3 separate regions of the Homo sapiens genome follow, and regions 2 and 3 are each linked to region 1. Evidence: promoter capture Hi-C in 16 types of primary human blood cells and fetal thymus (Javierre and others, 2016). All regions are on one chromosome and are shown on one strand. The core of a region is centred on a gene start or on the middle of the fragment in contact, and the rest is flanking DNA. Distances in the headings are between cores, read along the strand shown. Region 1 holds the start of RABGGTB (Rab geranylgeranyltransferase subunit beta). Region 2 overlaps SLC44A5 (solute carrier family 44 member 5). Region 3 overlaps ST6GALNAC3 (ST6 N-acetylgalactosaminide alpha-2,6-sialyltransferase 3).

Evidence for each region. Contacts are between HindIII fragments. The CHiCAGO score rates a contact against its expected background, and 5 or more counts as called.
Region 2: a fragment that was not itself captured here is called in contact with the fragment with the promoter of RABGGTB in region 1 in 2 of 17 cell types (M0 macrophages and M2 macrophages); the score reaches 5.8 in M0 macrophages.
Region 3: a fragment that was not itself captured here is called in contact with the fragment with the promoter of RABGGTB in region 1 in 1 of 17 cell types (non-activated CD4 T cells); the score reaches 5.1 in non-activated CD4 T cells.

Annotation. Positions count from the first base shown.
Region 1 is chr1:75,784,619-75,788,495 of GRCh38, forward strand. RABGGTB (Rab geranylgeranyltransferase subunit beta) reads left to right here and starts at 1,638. Exons shown (of 9, transcript NM_004582.4): 1 at 1,638-1,656; 2 at 2,879-2,986. The coding sequence starts at 1,654. It overlaps SNORD45C (small nucleolar RNA, C/D box 45C), which reads left to right and starts at 2,454; the gene lies at 2,454-2,531. SNORD45A (small nucleolar RNA, C/D box 45A) reads left to right here and starts at 3,271; the gene lies at 3,271-3,354. RefSeq lists enhancers at 220-439, 1,380-1,609 and a silencer at 1,670-1,729. The HindIII fragment of the contact is 7,492 bases long and covers 1-2,368 here.
Region 2 is chr1:75,255,632-75,259,508 of GRCh38, forward strand. All of the region lies in intron 6 of SLC44A5 (solute carrier family 44 member 5), which reads right to left. Among named protein-coding and RNA genes, the nearest start is that of LHX8, 120 kb to the left of the region's middle. The HindIII fragment of the contact is 717 bases long and covers 1,350-2,066 here.
Region 3 is chr1:76,303,117-76,306,993 of GRCh38, forward strand. The region is part of intron 1 of ST6GALNAC3 (ST6 N-acetylgalactosaminide alpha-2,6-sialyltransferase 3); the gene reads left to right. Among named protein-coding and RNA genes, the nearest start is that of ST6GALNAC3, 230 kb to the left of the region's middle. RefSeq lists an enhancer at 28-667. The HindIII fragment of the contact is 4,943 bases long and covers 1-3,877 here.

The sequences.
Region 1 (3,877 bases), core at 388-2,887:
AAAATATTCATTGAACACTTACTACGTGTAAGCAGGCACTCTACTAATTAACAGCCATTTCAGATTTTCAGAGTGCAAAGGGCCTCAAGAACAAATGATTTATTTTTTTGAGACATGGTCTCGTTCTGTCTCACACCCTGCAGTGCAGTGGCATTATCACCGCTCACTGTAGCCTCCACCCCCTGCCCCACAGCTCAAGTAATTCTCTCACCTCAGCTTCCCCAGTAGCTGAAACCACAGGCTTGGGCAACCACGTCTGGCTCATATTTTTATTATTTGTAGAGACGGGGGTCTTGCAACATTGCCCAGGCTGGTCTGGATCTCCTGGAACCGCCTTTGCAAAATTATAACTGAGGAAATTATGGCAGTGAAAGAAATCAGACCTAACGGATTCCATCTTGCTTCTAACTTTTGTTTTTGAGACTAGTCTCGCTCTGTCGCCCAGGGTGGAGTGCAGTGGCGTGATCTCTGCTCACTGCAAGCTCCGCCTCCCGGGTTTAAGCCATTCTCCTGCCTCAACCTCAGGAGTAGATGGGACTACAGGCGCCCACCCCCACGCCCGGCTAATTTTTTGTATTTGTAGTAGAGACGGGGTTTTAGCCAGGATGGTCTCGATCCCCTGACCTCGTGATCCGCCCGCCTTGGCCTCCCAAAGTGCTGGGATTACAGGCGTGAGCCACCGGCCGCTTCTAACTTTTAAGCTGTCCTTCTTCATTCCTGAGCCTAGGCTGAACCAATTTAGGGAGGAATTCAGTTTATGGTTTGACTCTGAAACAAAATTGATAATATCCCTTTCCCAAAAAGACCGCTTTTTTGCCTGGGGACCAGTCTGCCTTTGCAGAACCAACAGATTAGCTACAAGATTAGAAATTACAGTTTAGAGGTCATGCAGCCTCTGGCTCCAAGTTTCTGAACCTCCCCAAATTGCTCCTGGGGATAACATCACTATTGTAAAACCTAAGATAAGTTCTTGAGATATTTTGCAGACCCTGCTCTCCATGGATCAGTTGAAACCACCCAGATTGGTAATTTGGCTCAACCAGTTCTGCCATCCTACCCAGGAACAGAAAACAGCAAGAAAAACTCACGTCTACCCACTATGAGTCCATCTCCAACCTGACCCATCAGCACTCCCTACTTCCCAAGCCCCTAATCGCCGAATTATCTTTAAAAACTCTGAATACTGCTTGGGGAGACTCCATTGCAAGTCCCCTGTCTTGATAAATGGGCTATCGGTCAGCAGCAGGCAAAGTGAACCACAATATTGGGTGGTTACACTCCTAGGATCAAGCAATCCTGCTGTCCGGCTTCCCAAAGTGCTGGGATTACAGGCGTAAGCCACCGCGTCCAGCTAGAACAAATGATTTCTTAAAAGCAACTCAGATATTTAAATATTATTTAAAACTGTTTCTAGACAAATCGGAGTGACTATGGGACAAGCATATGGTCGCAGGACTTTGGACGCAGGCAGTGAGGACACCTATGAGCGATCAGTGGGGTCCTACGGCAGCCGTGGAACTGCTCTGCCTTGCAGGCGAAAGTGTGGTCAGCTATATCGGAGCGCGATGGGGGCCTGAGAGGCGCATCTGCGCAGGCGCCCGGCTCCTAAGTCTACCCAGGAACTGACCCTGCTCTCTCCTTTCCCTGTTAGACATGGTAAGTGTGAGTTTAGCGCTGCTGTCCGGATGGGTTGGTAGCAGACAGGGTGGAGTAGGGTTAAGCACACTGGTCACCTTAGGATTGGTTTCCTGGTGCTGGAGAATGGTTAGGACACAGGCCTTGGAAGGTTTTTTGAGTGTGAAATATTACTCAGCGTTTTCTGCAGACCTCGCGGGCAATGCCGCTTCTAATTTTATCCAGGCCTTCTTCTGTAGGGAGGGCCTGTTAAGAGTTGAGCAGCCCGATTTCTGAACCCCTCTAAAAAGCTGTGGCTGATTGGTGGCTTTTTTTTTTCTTGGAGAGGGGGTGTCAAAGATTTCTTTAAAATCGTTAGTGATGTGGTCTCGCTTTAAGATTTTTAATGGGATCAGAAGAAAATTCGGTACTTAATCACTTCCGGTAATCTTCATGACCTGTTATAGTGACTGCAGTGTACTCTCAATGAGGAAGATATAGATACGAAAAGAACTAGAGCCGCATCACATGGGGACTTCTGCAAATACAGAGACTCGGATTAAAGGTGGAGAAGATGGAGCTAAAGGAACTGCTTATTTAATACATTTGAACAACTTTTGGGGTACTTAGAAGGTGCTTTGAAACCTGCATTTGATTAAGCAAGAATTCGCTTGCAAGTTAAGGGTTAGATTTTTTTATTTTTTAAAAATATGCTTTCTGCCACATGTAAACCGTAAGTTGTCCTGAAATGATAAGCTTTGATATTCTATGGTGTTTATTTTTTACTTATCTTTTTGAATGAAAAGTGAACAACAAGAAATGCTGGTGGTAATTTTTTGGGTCAATGATGAGTTGGCATGTATTCTGAATCTAAAGTTGATTATTACTACTTTAGCTCTAGAATTACTCTGAGACCTGAAAATTACCTGAATCGTGACTAAGACGAAGCCTGAATGATTTAAGTTCTTTTTTGTTGGATACAATTTGTTGTTGTTGTTGTTGTTTTGGTTTTGTTTTTGAGTCGGTCTCCGGTCGCCCAGGATGGAGTGCAGTGACACAACCTCAGTTCACTGCAGCCTTAATTTCCCTGGCTCAAGCGATCTTCTACCTCAGCCTCCCTAGTTAGTTACAATTTTTAAATGGAACGTTTTCCTATTACAAGATGAAATCAAGTGAAAATTGAGATGTATGTTGAATCTATGCTGTGGGGCAGAAGAACGTTGTAGAGGTAAACATTGATGAGATTACCACTTTATTTTGAAAGGGCACTCCACAGAAGGATGTTATTATCAAGTCAGATGCACCGGACACTTTGTTATTGGAGAAACATGCAGATTATATCGCATCCTATGGCTCAAAGAAAGATGATTATGTATGTATAATTTTTTTATGTTGGAAAGTTTATTTTAAAGAAGTGTGACAGTCATAAGCAGTGAGACAGTATTTATGTCTTAAAATGGCATCCAACTCCATGCAGAGAACTGAGGATGTGCTGTGCCTTTGAACTTCAGTTAAGTGTGCTTTGGACGTCTGAGGCTGTGGGCTTATTAGAATCTCAGTTTTTACCTATACTGAGAGGGCTTGCCAGACAAAGTAGATGAGGGTTTGAGGTACAAAACGGGTTTCTCTTTTTGTAGTTAGGGGTAATACTTTCAAGGTCAATGATGTGTTGGCATGTATTATCTGAATCTATTGCTGATGTGTAATAACACTTTAGCTCTAGAATTACTCTGAGACCTTGAAAAAGTTTTACCTTAAATTTTTAAATTTCGAGGAAAACTCTGGGACAATCTTAGCAAAAAGTAGTAAACAACTTAGTTAAGAGTAAATGTTTTTCCCTGTAGTATCCAAACTCAGTTGTCTTAGTCTACCGATTTGTGGGATATATGGTATGTATTAATTTTTTACTTAAGTGTTAGGTTCCCATAACCTTGAAAATACTCTATTAGCAATCATGGAGTTAAGGCCATATGGATGGGGCTGGACTCGTTTCTGCCTTTATCTGCTATCTATCTTTATGCCCTGAATTTGGGTTAGTAGCAAACTAAGATGCACCACCTGTTAAAAAAACTTCTTTTTTTCCTTTTGAGAGCTATAACCTCACTTTGTTGCCCAGACTGGAGGACAGCGGTGCGATCTGGGCTCACTGCAGCCTCCATCTCCTGGGTTTAAGTGAGCCACCTGAATAGCTGGGATTACAGGCACATTCCACCATGCCCAGCTAGTTTTTGTATTTTTCGTAGAGACTGAGTTTTGCTATGTT
Region 2 (3,877 bases), core at 458-2,957, 530 kb before region 1:
AATTGTCCAGAGCTGATGAGAGTCATAGTTCTTCAGGATTAAAGGACTTACTAAGGACTCAAAGAAAGAATTAAACAGGCCTCTATCAAATTGTGAGATTTCAGAACACTAAGAATAAAGAAATGATTTTAAGTACTTTCTAAAAGGAAAATACTTATCATGATGTATGTGAATTCTACTGGCATTAGACATTCTGGATAACAAAAATGATGGAGCAATGTCTTCACATTTCTGAAAAGAATTGTTTTTCAATCTACACTTCTATAGCTATACCATCAATCAAATATAAAAAGAGAAAAGAAAAGATGAAGAGACAAAGAAGACATTTATAGGAACTCAGCAAGTTTACTTCTTATGCTTTCTTTTTTTAGGAAGGTAATTGAGAATATTCTCCATGAAAACAGGTGGGTCAACAGAAAGAGAGGCAGCCTTGGGATATAGGAAACAATAAATTCACATACTTACGCTAAAAATTATTATTTATATGAAATTAAAAAGTTAACTGGGCATTCTGTGCTTTTGTTTCATAAATCTGTTAACTCTAGAAAAAGACAATTTAACAAGGTAGAGAAGCCCCAGAATTAAAGCTATGCAATAGGCCTACAATTTACCAGGTCCTGAGTAAAGCAAAAGGACAGCAGCTCTGCAAGGTAGACCTTCAGGGAAAAGGGGCCCCTGAAAAATAGTATGATTGAGATGGCAGAAAAGCACATTGTTCTGATGAAGGCTATCCAAGAAAAACCTTGTGGGTAAACAAAACATTATGTTAGAAAGTCACTATGTTGAAGCAAACTAAAATGTGAGATGATCCTATGCTGCTAATGAAGTGTGAGATTTGGCTTTGATATCAAGGACATGGTACAAATAAGAAAGTAATGGCCTGACAGTGAATACAGTTTGTAGAGTTATGACAAAGCAGAAGTTTTTAAAATCATTTTCAAATTCTGGAACCAACCTACCAATACATCATGCAAGATTCTGTTGAAGTTCCAGAACTGAACATAAATGGTGACAAATCTGATCATGTAAAATGGTATTTATAGAAAGTATTTCCAGAAAGTAAAAGGTGAAAGGGAACGAAAAGATGGACAGAAGGGTAGGGGTGATAATATCCTCTTACATAAAGATGAGCTGAGACACTGACAAAAGTTAGCAGAACAAGAAGTAGAGGTATTGCATACTATTTAAAGTCATAAAAGTAACCACAAGGCAATCCAAAAGTAGTAATTTAACTACCAAACATGGGTGAAGGGGATCAGTAAGATAATGTATATGAGTTAGAAATATTCATTTCCCATAGCAGACTGTCAGTGGATATTATCTAAACTTAATAAGCACAAAATAAAATAAGCTTATTATTTAAAGTTCTGTAAAAACCAACTGCCAGAAGAACTAAAACCAGAGAGAGAAGAGATTGTCCCAGTGAAAGGAAAGTGTGGGTGAAAAGTCCTAGAATGAGAGACCATTGCTTTTATTATAAACTCTTCATTACTATTTTGTTTGTTTTCACATGCATATATTATTTTGATTCAAATTTTAAACATTAAACAAATTGTGTGTGGATACTGGTAGTAAGTTCAATCAAAGAGATTTGTGAGATATTTTTGCCATTTTGTCAGAGGTCAGTGAATTGAAAACTAAGTTGCTATTGCTTCACATAGATGCTGAATTGGATGCAAGGCTTAAAAGGGAGGGACTTCAAAATGGCTGATGAGAAGCATATAGTACCCACTTGCACTACAAAGAAGAACCAAAATAACAAGTAGATAATCACACTTTGAATAGATCACCTAAGCAAGAATGCCAGAATTCAACAGCCAAAGTGAACAGGAAACAGCTAAGGCATGGAAAAAGAGTGAAGAGAGGCAGCATGCTCAGCCAGGATCAGCTGGGAACCTAGAGAGGCTTTCCGATGCAGGAAAAGGGTGAGAGACCCCTAGTGGTCCACATTCCCAACACAAACTCCTGCAATTCTAGCCATGGGTGAGCCCCTTGACCCACTCAGGCACTGAGACTAACATAGGAAATTGCCTGGAGACTGCATAACAGCATTGCTCCAAAGAGAAAGCTTCTACTGGGTCTCACACCCCTCCCTGAGGTCTAAGAAGAAACAGCAAGGTGGCTGGCAAGATGGCTAAATAGGAACAGCTCTGGTCTGCAGCTCCCAGCGAGAACTACTCAGAAAAAGGGTGATTTCTGCATTTCCAACTGAGGTAACCAGTACATCTCAGTGGGACTAGTTGGACAGTGGGTGTAGCCCAGGGAGGGCGAGCCAAAGCAGGGTGGGTTGTCACCTCACCCAGGAAGCATAAGGGGTCAGGGAACTCCCTCTCCTAGCCTAAGGAAATAGCCATTAGGGACTGTATCATGCACTCTGGCCCAGATTTTGAGCTTTTCCCACGGTCTTCGCAACCCGCAGACCAGAAGATTCACTCCAGGGCCCACTCCACCAGGGCCCTGGGTTTCCAGCACAAAACTGGGTGGCCATTTGGGCAGACACCAAGCTAGTCACAGTTTTTTTTCATACCCCAGTGGCGCCTGGAATGCCAGTGAGACAGAACTGTTCACTCCCCTAGAAAGGGGGCTGAAGCCAGGGAACCAAGTGGTCTGGCTTGGCAGTTCCCACAACCACGGAGACCAGAAAGCTAAGATCCACTGGCTTGAAACTCTCACTTTGAGCACAGCAGTCTGAGCTCGACCTGGGATGCTTGAGCTTCGTCAGGGAAGGGGTGTCTGCCATTGCTGTGGCTTGAGTAGGTGGTTTTACAAAGTCGTTGGGAAGTTGGAACTGGGTGGAGCTCACCACAGCTCAGCAAGGCCACTGCTGCCAGACTGCCTCTCCAGATTTCCTCCTCTCTGGGCAGGGCATCTCTGAAAAAAAGGCAGCAGCCCCAGTCAGGGACTTACAGATAAAACCCCCAACTCCCTGGGACAGAGCACCTGGAGGAAGGGGCGGTCGGGGGTCCAGCTTCAGCAGACTTAAAAGTCCCTGCTGGCAGCTCTGAAGAGAGCAGCAGATCTCCCAGCACAGCGTTTGAGCTCCAATAAGGGACAGACTGCCTTCTCAAGTGGGTCCCTGACCCCTGGGTATCTTGACTGGGAGACACCTCCCAGTAGGCGCCAATAGACACCTCATACAGGAGAGCTCTGGCTGGCATCTGGCAGGTGCCCCTCTGGGACGAAGCTTCCAGAGGAAGGAACAGGCAGCAATCTTGGCCATTCTGCGATTCTGCCAGTGACACCCAGGCAAACAGGGTCTGGAGTGGACCTCCAGTAAACTCCAGCAGACCTGCAGCAGAGGGGCCTTACTGTTAGAAGGAAAGCTAACAAACAGAAAAGAACAGTATCAACAGCAACAAAAAGGACATCTACTCAGAGACCCCAGCCAAAGGTCACTGACTTTAAAGACCAAAGGTAGATAAATCCATGAAGATGGGGGGAAATCAGCACAAAAAGGCTGAAAATTCCAAAAACCAGAATGCATCTTCTCCTGCAAAGGATCACAACTCCTCGCCAGCAAGGCAACAAAACTGGACAGAGAATGAGTTTGACAAATTGACAGAATTAGGCTTCAGAAGATGGGTAATGACAAACTCCTCTGAGCTAAAGGAGCATGTTCTAACCCAATGCAAGGAAGCTAAGAACCTTGAGAAAAGGTTAGATGAATTGCTAACTTTAATAACCAGTATAGAGAAGAACATAAATGACCTGATGGAGCTGAAAAACACAGCACAAGAATTTCGCAAAGCATACACAAGTATCAATAGCAGAATCGATCAAGTGGAAGAAAGAATGTCAGAGATTGAAGATCAACTCAATGAAATAAAGTGAGAAGACAAGATTAGAGAAAAAAGAGTGAAGAGAAATGAACAAAGCC
Region 3 (3,877 bases), core at 527-3,026, 520 kb after region 1:
CAACCAATCAGAGGCTAAAGTGATGTTACAAAGTTACATTTCTATGCAAACGAAGACTTGGCCCACAATCAGTCTGATTGGTTGCAGACAGCAGTTAATCAGAGGCTGAAGTGAAGTTTCATAGGTCACACTCCCATGCAAGCATCTGATTGGTTGCAAAAAGCAACCAATCAGAGATACTTTCCATTTTCAATCTGCCACCTAGAAAAAGTGGGGTTTTGCAAAGGGAGTGGTCTCTGGTCCTTTTGTTACCTAGCCAGTGGAAAGTTAGGGTTTTTCTTTCAATTTAGTCCTAGGAAGTCAGCGTGAAACGGCCTTAGGTTCCCTGCCTCCAGACCCTATTCTCTTGCCTCATTAGTGTAACTTGACCACCTGAGTCTACCGGTACACCCCTGGTGAGAATCCACTTTTAGCTTTGTAAAGTACTTGGCATAATGCCTGATACTTGCTGAGTACATAGTGAGCTGTTGCAAGTCCCTTCCACTAAAAAATAAGCTATTGTCCTTATCAGAAGAATAGGATACTCTTTTGTTATCTATTTCTCATTCCATGATATAGGATTCTAGCTTTAAGTGTTGTCAATCTCAGACAAGAGTTGATTATCTAAAAAATATGGATTCTTGTAAGCCTTTTCATTATGTGCCATATAAAAAATGTTGCTCCAAGCAGGTTTACTAGTTTATCACCATTCAGATTTACAAGTTCTATCAGGAACTTCAAAGCAATTTCCTAGTAAATTTCCTAGTAAAAAGTCCAGTTTAACAAATGTTTAAATTTTTCTCACTTCTCTTTATATTTTAAATTTTTCTCACTTCTCTTTATATTTCACACCCTAACCCTCTCCCTCACTTTCCCATTCCCCACCACATTCACCTCAAATCTACACAGAAATCTTAAAGTGAGATGAATTAAGAAAAAAAAAGAAAATTGCCTTTTTTCTTTTATGAAAAAACATATTTTTATAATAATCTGAATCTGAAATTTTTGAAATAATTTAGGACTTATATTTAGAAAAAATCATTTAATCCCTCTGTCCTTCCTTCTTTCTCTCCTTCATTCTTTCATTTCTTCCACAAATATTTACTGAATATTTTCTGTTAAAGACATTGTGCTTGATACTGCCTTATGAGATATATTTCTCAGATTTTGTTCATGTCCTGAAGAAATTTTCAAAGACAAAATTAAGGGGGAATCTTTCTCTCCTTCCCTCCCTTCCTTTCTCCCTCCACTCTCCCTCTTCCCTCTTTCCTCCATCTTCTTTCTCCATCCACCCCATCCCACCCCACCCTTATCCATGAACTAGAAGCCAAGGAGGAACAAATGCTTTATGGGGGAAACACTCTGAGCAAGTTATATTGGAACTTGCAGAGATGAGGATGGTAGAATACAGCAAGGGGGCCAGGAGGAGCAGCATGAACAAGGTCACAGTAACTGGATAGCAAAGGGGCTTTAGAGAAGGCTGAGAAGTCCAGCTTGAAACATGGAGGACAGGAAAGGGAGAGATGGGAGAGGAGACTTCCCTTCTCACTTCACTTGTTACAGAGAGATGCATGTGAGGTGTGAGGATAAATGCCATTTAATGTAAGGTCATGTAGATTCACAGAAAAATAAGAGATTCCAGCTGATGTCATTATCATCGTAGTCATTTTCATCATTGTCGGGATGCCTCTGGCAGGACTTCCTCCCTAATGACACCAGGACCACCAGAATTTACACTTATGCTCTGCTTCTGTGTCCTGAACACCTTGGAGGTACGAATGGATTCTAAGAGACAAACTCATCTCGTTTAGAGTGAAAAGATGACAAGCAGAGGTTCGCAGAAGCCACATACAACCAATGAAGCCTATAAGGTAGCTGAGAATTAAACAAAAGCACCTGTTCCGATTACCTTCATTGTTCCTGGTTAGTTAGCACCTCCCTTTCCTCAACAGAATGCCCGGCGCACAGGGGTGGGATCTGAGTGAGGGCAACAGGTGGATTGGAGAACATTTCTTCCCATAAGTAGTAGGATTTGATGGAAAAACAAGTAACTTCAGGGTAATAAAATGATGGAAAGTCCTGATGGGTCAGGTCCATATCTAATCTTAAGAAGGGCAGCCTTAGGCAGCATAGTGGGTGCTAGAATCATTGGTACCATCAAGAAAAGAGTAGTAATGTGAATTTCAAAGAAGATCACTTTGGGATAATGAACAGCATGACAGAATCCGGGAGCCTAATGAAGAAGATGTGATATAGTAAAAGAAATATATTGAGTGTAGGCTTTGAATAGGGCAGAAGGAGTGGAACTAGAGAGGCAAGAGGAGATGTGATTATGGAAGGTCTTGTATATCATACCAAGGGTCTGCACTTACACTGTAGAGTCCAGAGGGATCTAAATGTAGGATAGACAGGATCAGGTTTGATTTTGGAAAGCTCAGTCTGGAGGTGGTGTGGCCAATGTTTGGGAAGTGGTAAAGACTCTTTCGGGAAAGACAATATCAAGAGCAAACATGGACTACTTCATCAGGTATCACCAGCAGATATTAAATTATCAGTACAAAACCCAGCAATTATTACTTTCAGATCGGCCTTTTTTCTCTTACTAGGAGAATATAGTCCAGATAGAGTGTACGTGCATGAATAATCATCATAGTCTTAACAGAGGATGAAGTTTAATGAGTGTTATCAGTTAGAGAATTATTTATATAATCTCAGTTTTCCAGACAAAGAAATAGAGGCATAGTGAGATGAAGTGACTGCCCAAAGTCATAGATGGAGAAAATGGTAAAGATGACTTGAACTCTGATATTCTGCCTCTAGAGCCTGTGTTCTAGTGTGTGAATTAACTAAGTTGTTAATTGTTATTCATACTAATGGGAACATTCTCATATAACTGGTTCAGAAATTTTAAAAACTGGTACCAGCCTTAGGTAGATTTTGTAATGCAGTTTGTCAGTAACCAAAATACCTAATTCATATGGAAAATTAAGAGGCTGGTGTGAAGCATGATAATTACATTTACTTTGAAATCAGCAATTTGTGGATAAATTTAATTCATTTTGCCCAACTCTGGCTTTATTCCCGGTATTAAAAAGACAACTACAGGGTGCACTTGGTTAGCACTCAGGGAAAATAAAGCAATTATTCTTCCACTTCTGCTAGAGAACACTAGGTACCCTTTGACAGTCAATTGTATAGACTCTTATTGTAGGCAGTTTGTAGGAACCAACCTGATGGAATGGGTATGTCTTCCTCTTTCAGCTCCACAATCCAATGACCCTTTTGTTCAACAAAAACACAACTAAACAACAAAATGTTGGTAGTTAAAAAAAAGTTTAAAAGTAATAGGACGCCTTCAACATGGTAATCTACTTTAAGAATTTAGAGCACATGTCAGTATGTCACCTTCAGACATGGTTATAGTCCAGTAAGAATTACAAATCCAACAAACAAAAATCAAGGCAATAGAGTTTTCATGGGTACCACTGTAATAAATTCTTCTGTGCAAAAAGCCAGTCCTAGAGAAAAATTATAGGTAGCAACATTTTCTGAGGAACTTTTTTCCCAAAGGAGTTTTTTTTTTTGGGGGGCGGGGGGTGCAGACATTATTGAGAAGTTCAAGTTAACATGAGCATTATGACTGTATCAGATGACATGATAAGAGGTTACATTGAACTTTCTAACACCTATTCTTAAATTATAATAAAAAAACTCATTGAGTTTTTAACATGCCTGTACATTTTCTCATTTTATTCAGGGAGTAGATTTAGGTTTTTCTGGCCTGACTGGATTTTTAAACTGCTACAAGATAACATAAAAATAATCATGGCTATATTCACTGAGTTTGTTTCATTTTGTAAAATTATGAAAAACAAGTTTATCTCATTCAGTCTCTTTA